Linked DNA regions of Homo sapiens: region 1 is linked to region 2. The links are contacts of gene promoters, found by promoter capture Hi-C in blood cells and fetal thymus (Javierre and others, 2016). All regions are on one chromosome and are shown on one strand. Each heading gives the region's core, a stretch centred on a gene start or on the middle of the fragment in contact. The rest is flanking DNA. Distances are from core to core; before and after follow the strand shown. Region 1 holds the start of CFAP20 (cilia and flagella associated protein 20). Region 2 holds the start of SLC38A7 (solute carrier family 38 member 7).

Region 1 (3,203 bases), core at 519-3,018, 560 kb before region 2:
AAACTAAAAACCTCAGTAACGCAGCAACGTTAAGGAACTGCTTTCCTGTACTCTGGCACTAGCTCTAGCTTGTGGATAGAATCATCTGAAAGAGAAGAGATGGGCAGATTTTACATACACAAAGGCCCAACTTCATTATATTCAGATTTTTCAACTATCTTATGAAAGTAACACTATGGACACACCATCCTAAAAGCTGCCCTCAGAACGCAGAGTTCCCTAGTGGTGACAGGCAGAAAGCTGCTCATGTTCTCTCCCAACTTTATGTGGCCCTCATAAAGAGCTCTCATGTGTGGATAAGGGAATACAGAGACGTGTTCCAAGATAAAATTCAAAATTCTTGGCTTCATTACCAATAAATCCTACTGAGATTATTCCACATGCATCTCTCTAAAAAGCAGCATTCGGCATACCCACACTCGCCATTCTCCCAGAGAGCAGTACTAAGAATATGACTTAAATTTCACATTGGAGTGCCTCCCGTAACTTATATTCAAGAAATAGTACAGCTGATTGCCTGGGAATTTGCATGAAGAACGAAATACCAAAGTAATAAAATGCAGACCAATTCATAGACAGCTAGATCTTTCTTCACATCTGCAAAAAACAGATTCATCATCTCGTGGGGCCAAACACATATCATCTAGTGGATGCCTGAATAAAGATGAGGCCTGTACTTGGCTCTGAGTTTATTAATCCAAACAAGACTTTGACTGTCAGCATTCTGCAGTTTTCCTGATGGAGAAATCAGGCACCGAGGGCATAGTACAGGCAAGTCACAGTGAGTGTGGAGCAGGTGCCAAGGGCCACTGAATTCTGACTTATTTGGGATCAGTGGGAGGAAGGGAGCAAATGAATGCAATTTAAACATCACTGGCTTGGCCGGAGTCTTTCTGTCTGCTCCTCTGTAAGGGTGCCTGAACAAAGGCTCTGTGTCTAGTGCCCAGCACCGTGCCTGGCACAAAAACGGATATCAGTAAATATTTGGAATTCGTGAATAGCAGGTCCTTTCATCTTTACATCCCCAAAGCTCCTTCAAATAAGTTCGTGCATTTCATGCTACGAGATGGGCACCATCAACCCCATTATATTGGTGGGGAAACAGTGGCTCAAAAGAATGGACTGACCGACCAAGTCAAGACAGCAGCGAGGGTCGCGGTCCTAACCACACCACAGCTGCAGGACACTTAGATCTCAGCCACGCCCACCCACATGCACCGCCCCCCCCCCACCTCCTCCGCTGCTTACACGACGCCCCCACCTCGCGCCCCAGTCCCGCCAGGCTGGGGACAAGGCACAGCAGCGTCCTCTCGGCCTCTCCCAGGCCCCAATTCGACACAACCATTCCCCGTCCCCAGCCCCCGGACGAGGAGGGGGTGCAGCCCCTCCACCCCGCCCCGTCGCCGCCCCTAGCCCGACCTTTTTGTCCCAGATTTGCAGAGGCTTGCTGCCGATGCTGTAGAGGATGGAGAGGAAGCCGCTCTGGAACGTGTTTTTGAACATCTCGCCGGCGGCCTTCTCCTAAGCCGCCCCCGGAGCCGACCTAGGCCCCGGAGTAGATACAGGCACCGAGCGTCGAGGGCACAGCAGCAGGCCGGCCCTGTTCCGAAGAAGGGTGGTTGAGCTCCTGGCCTCCGGATCTGCAGCCACTGATGGCCGGACTCGGACGCGGCAACGCTAAGTCCGCGATCTTCAGCTCCTAAGCTGCGAGCTCAGAACGGAAACCACAGCAACTACCGTCCGCGCCGCGGTATTTCCCCGCCTTCAATGGAGGCGGAGGGCCGCCCGTTGCTTAAAATGAATCCCTCCGCCCATCTGAGCCCGCCCCCCGGGAGCGCGGGGCCCAATCCCGTTACAAGGACCACGGACTTCCGTTTCGTTCCGCCTGTAAGTCCCGCCTGGTCCCGCCTCCTCCTGAAAAGAGCTCAGTTGTCAAGGAACTATTTTTCTTGCCGTCGTCCCAGAGATGCCTTTGGAAAAGCGGAAGGGCACGGAGGGTTCTGGAGTTCGTTGCTGGCACCTGCGTGGTGTCATGAGAACGTGGCGGGGCGGTGAGTGACGTGAGGGGGCGTGACGGCCAGGCCGGGAGTAGTTGCCCGCGCGGGAGAACAGGGGCTGCGCAGGGAAAGCGGCTTTGAAAAAGAGCTTCTTGGCGTCGGGCGGACGCCCAACACATGCTTGTCGGCCAAGTACAGGATAAGGTTAAAGGGAACTAACCAATATTCAGCACTAACTGTGATAAGCGCCTAATATACATCCCTGCCTGTCATTATTCACATTGTGGCATGCAGTCAAAGCGACACTCTGAGGAAAATGTATCGCCTTAAATACATTGATTAGAAAATAAGAAAGCCCGAACATGATTAGGCCGGGCGCGGTGGCTCACGGCCGAAATCCCAGCACCTTGGGAGGCCGAGGCAGGCGGATCGCTTGAGTCCAGGAGTTCAAGACCAGCCTGGGCAAAAAAGCGAGACCCTTCCTCTACAAAAAAATACAAAAATCAGCCGGGCGTGGTGGCGCGCGCCTGTAATCCCAGCTACTTGGGGGGCTGAGGTGGGATGATCCCTTGAGCCCGGGAGGAGGAGACTGCAGTGAGCCGAGACCACGCCACTGCACTCCAGCCTGGGCGACAGAGCGAAACCCGGTCTCAAATAAATAAATAATCCTGAACATTAAGATAAAGGCAGACATTCATAAACAAAATTAAGAAAGTTGAGTTGAACCAACAGCTGATTTTTATTTTATTATTTATTTGTTTATTTATTTTTGAGACAGGATCTCGCTCTGTCACCTAGGCTGGAGTGCAGTGGCGCGATCATGGCTCACTGCAGCCTCGACCTCCCCTGCTCAGCCTATCCTTCCACCCAGTCTCCAGAGTAGCTGACTACAAGCGTGGGCCACCATGCCTGCGTTAATTTTTTGTTTTTGTAGAGACAGGGTTGCACTGTGTTGCTCAGGCTGGTCTCAAACTCAGGCTGGTCTACACTCCAGCCTGGGCAACACAGTCTCTGAAAAATAAAAATAAAAATTAATACGGCTGGGCGCGGTGGCTCACGCCTGCAATCCCAGCACTTTGGGAGGCTGAGGCAGGTGGATCACGAGGTCAAGAGATCGAGACCATTCTGGCTAACACGGTGAAACCCCGTCTCTACTAAAAATACAAAAAATTAGCCGGGCGTGGTGGCGGGCACCTGTAGTCCTAG
Region 2 (3,132 bases), core at 140-2,639:
GGAAAGGGTGAAAGTTCATGTGCTCTCAGCCATCTGTTATCAAGCATGGAACCAAGGGACATGGCACCAGAGGAAACATTCCTCTGCTGGCTCGAAACCCAGAAAGATCTGTCAGATGTCACAGGGCTTACACATCCTCTTACACATCCTGTCACCCAACCAGCAACTCAGCAAAATCAAAGCAGTGAGCAGCGAAGGCAGAGTCTTGGGACTCCCAGGCTTCCAGTGTAGCTAGAGAAAGAACCCTGCAAAGTGACCACTGCCAGAGCTGTGACCATCTCCTCCCCGCTGCTCACGTCACAGAGACAGAGGTCTACAGAGTGATTCGTCCAAGGTCACAAGGCTTGGTGCGGCTTCCTGACTCTCCAACCAAAATGTTTCCCTTGGGCACCCCTGCCCGAGTCCTGCACCATCCTCCAGCCTCTCCTGCCACCCACATGAGAGTGCAGGCTGGGGTCCTCGTGGAACTCAGAAGCTGGGGGTCCCACCTCTTGCAGATTCTCTGCCTTGGTTAAGACCTCTCGGCACCCCCACTGCTCACTGGCAAATTACTCAGCTCATTGTTGCACCTTACCTGCTCTTTCTCCCTGATGGGCTGTGCCAGAGGCGGTTGCTCCTTCTCCCCAAAGGTCTGGGATCTGATTCTCCTCACTTCCCTTTCTGGACCCAATTTCTTCTTTCTCAAGACTTTGCCTAAAATTTGCTGTCAGCAGAGGGAAGAGTTTGGGCTACTTCTGTGCTGGCTTCAGCAGAGCTGGAGGAAACTGAGCGGCTCTCACGCTTACTCATGAAATGGAGCTTCAGGACAGATAGGAAAACAGGCCCAGGAGGGAGAGGTTAGACTAAGGTCACAGTGGGTAGCTGGCAGAGCCAGAATAGAAGCCTGATGCCCACATGCTCAGGCCAGCGATGTAGGCCCCTCAGATCCCAACTGGAGTGTGCTCCCAGTCCAGCCTGGGGTTGGAGCCCTGAGATAGAAAGGGTGGGCTGCTTTGTGAGGTGAGGCTTTGTGAGGTGAGCCAGGGCGCACCCGGGCCAGGAGGCCGGGGCGGGGCGATTCCCAGGCCTGGAGCGAGAAGGGTGGGCTACTGTGGGGTAACCTGGGGAGGAGCTCCGGGACCCGATCCCGGCCTAGGACTGGGTGGAGACCCTCTGGCTGGGTAAAGGCGCGGCAGAGCTGGCGCAACAGAGGGACGGGCGTGGGGCGAGGACGCCAGGATCTGGACCCCTGCAGGGAAAGGGTCTGAGCTTTTCCGCGGTGGCGGGGACTGAGGGGCTCCACAGACCTCGGGGATCTAACACTTCCACCCTCCAGAGCCTGTCTCCGGCCACCTACCTTGGGGGATTCTTTCCCGAGCCGGCTGCGGAGACACGTGAGCATGCATCACATGACGCCCGCTCGGGCGGCCGCGGGACACGCTGGGAGTTGTAGTTTCCGCAAATGTGAAGCTTGGACAACACCAGCTCCCTGAATCCTCAGCCCGACAGCACTGCCCTGAGCCAGCCTCGCGTCCAGCCAGCTCGTGTTTATCCTCTTACTTTTAGTCTTGGCCTCTTGACCAAATCAAACACTGCTCCTTCCTCCAAGGAAGAGCATTAGGAGGTCTGGCCTCTTTGCCAGTCCCGGTGGCGGTGGGCCAAAGCTGTTTGGCCTCATTATCCTCCCGGTCTCTGTCCTTGCCTTCACGCCCATGGCCAGAGCACTGGAGTTTTTTTTTAATCAGTAATGTGGGGGACCTGGAGCCACGGTCTTTCCTGCAAGGGAGTGGGCTGGGGGCATGGTTACGACCCCATCGGTTTAGACTCTAGAACAGTTTTTGAGGGATTGTAGGTGCTCAGTAAATATTTGTTGAATGACGAAATGGGCATCCAGTCCTGGTTCTGTTCTTGGCTGTGTGTCACTCATAAATTGTCACGTAATCTCCAGCATCCCAATAGCCTCATCTCTGTTTTGTGGATATGCTCTCCACTGCACTTACCTCTCCATGCATCAGAGGTCCTCACCGATGAGGACACACTGGGAATCCTTAGAAACCCAAATCACACCTTTTTTTTTTTTTTTTTTTTTTTTTTTTTTGAGACAGAGTCTCACTCTGTCTCCCCGGCTGGGGTGCAGTGGCACGATCTTTGCTCACTGCAACCTCTGCCTCCCGGGTTCATGTGATTCTCCTGCCTCAGCCTCCCGAGTACCTGGGATTACAGGCATGCACCACCACTCCCAGCTAATTTTTGTATTTTTAGTAGAGATGGGGTTTCGCCATGTTGGCCAGGTTGGTCTCAAACTCCTGACCTCAAGTGATCCACCCACCTCAGCCTCCCAAAGTGCTGGGATTACAGGCATGAGCCACCGTGCCTGGCCTCCAAAAAGTTTATATAAATTGAATCATACTGGTTGAGTGCGGTGGCTCACACCTGTAATCCCAGCACTTTGGGAGGCCAAGGCGGGCTGATCACTTGAGGTCAGGAGTTCGAGACCAGCCTGGCCAACATGGCGAAGTCCTGTCTCTATTAAAAATACAAAAATTAGCTGGGCATGGTGGTGCACGCCAGTAGTCCCAGCTACTCGGGAGCCTGAGGCAGGAGAATCACTTGAACCCGGGGGGCGGAGGTGGCGGTGAGCAGAGATCGTGCCACTGCACTCCAGCCTGGGAGACAGAGTGAGACTCTGTCTCAAAAAAAAAAAAAAAAATAGAATCATACTGTCTTAATCAGTTAAGGCCGCTATAACAGAGTATCATAGACTGGGTGGTTTAAACGACAGAGATTTATTTTTCACCGTCCTGGAAGCTGTCAAGACTGAGGTCAGAATGCCAGCAGAGTCAAGTTCTGGGGAGGACCATCTTCATAGTTTTCAGATGGCCATCTTCCTGCTGTGTCCTCACATTGCGGAAAGCAGAGAGGGAAAGTAAACTCTCTCTTATTTTTATTTATTTTATTATTATTATTATTTTTAGAGACACGGTCTCTGTTGCCCAGGCTGGAGGGCAGTGGCGCAATCACAGCTCACTGCAGTCGCCATCTCCCAGGCTCCACTAGTCCTCCCGCTTCAGCCTCCCAAATAGTTGAGACTACAGGCATGCGTGCCATCATGCCTAGCTAACTTTTCATTTTTTATAGAGACAAGGTCTTCCT

The links. Contacts are between HindIII fragments. The CHiCAGO score rates a contact against its expected background, and 5 or more counts as called.
Region 1: the fragment with the promoter of CFAP20 here is called in contact with the fragment with the promoter of SLC38A7 in region 2 in 6 of 17 cell types (total B cells, activated CD4 T cells, M0 macrophages and 3 more); the score reaches 7.0 in total B cells.

The regions. Positions count from the first base shown.
Region 1 is chr16:58,127,613-58,130,815 of GRCh38, forward strand. It overlaps CFAP20 (cilia and flagella associated protein 20), which reads right to left and starts at 1,769. Exons shown (of 6, transcript NM_013242.3): 1 at 1,420-1,769. The coding sequence starts at 1,503. It overlaps LOC101927556 (a long non-coding RNA gene), which reads left to right and starts at 1,272. Exons shown (of 4, transcript NR_188516.1): 1 at 1,272-2,051. RefSeq lists enhancers at 1,033-1,954, 1,494-1,663, 1,955-2,875 and silencers at 1,294-1,433, 2,556-2,793. The HindIII fragment of the contact is 18,688 bases long and covers 1-3,203 here.
Region 2 is chr16:58,683,381-58,686,512 of GRCh38, forward strand. SLC38A7 (solute carrier family 38 member 7) reads right to left here and starts at 1,390. Exons shown (of 12, transcript NM_018231.3): 1 at 1,337-1,390; 2 at 575-798. RefSeq lists enhancers at 762-1,606, 1,117-1,176. The HindIII fragment of the contact is 5,837 bases long and covers 1-1,447 here.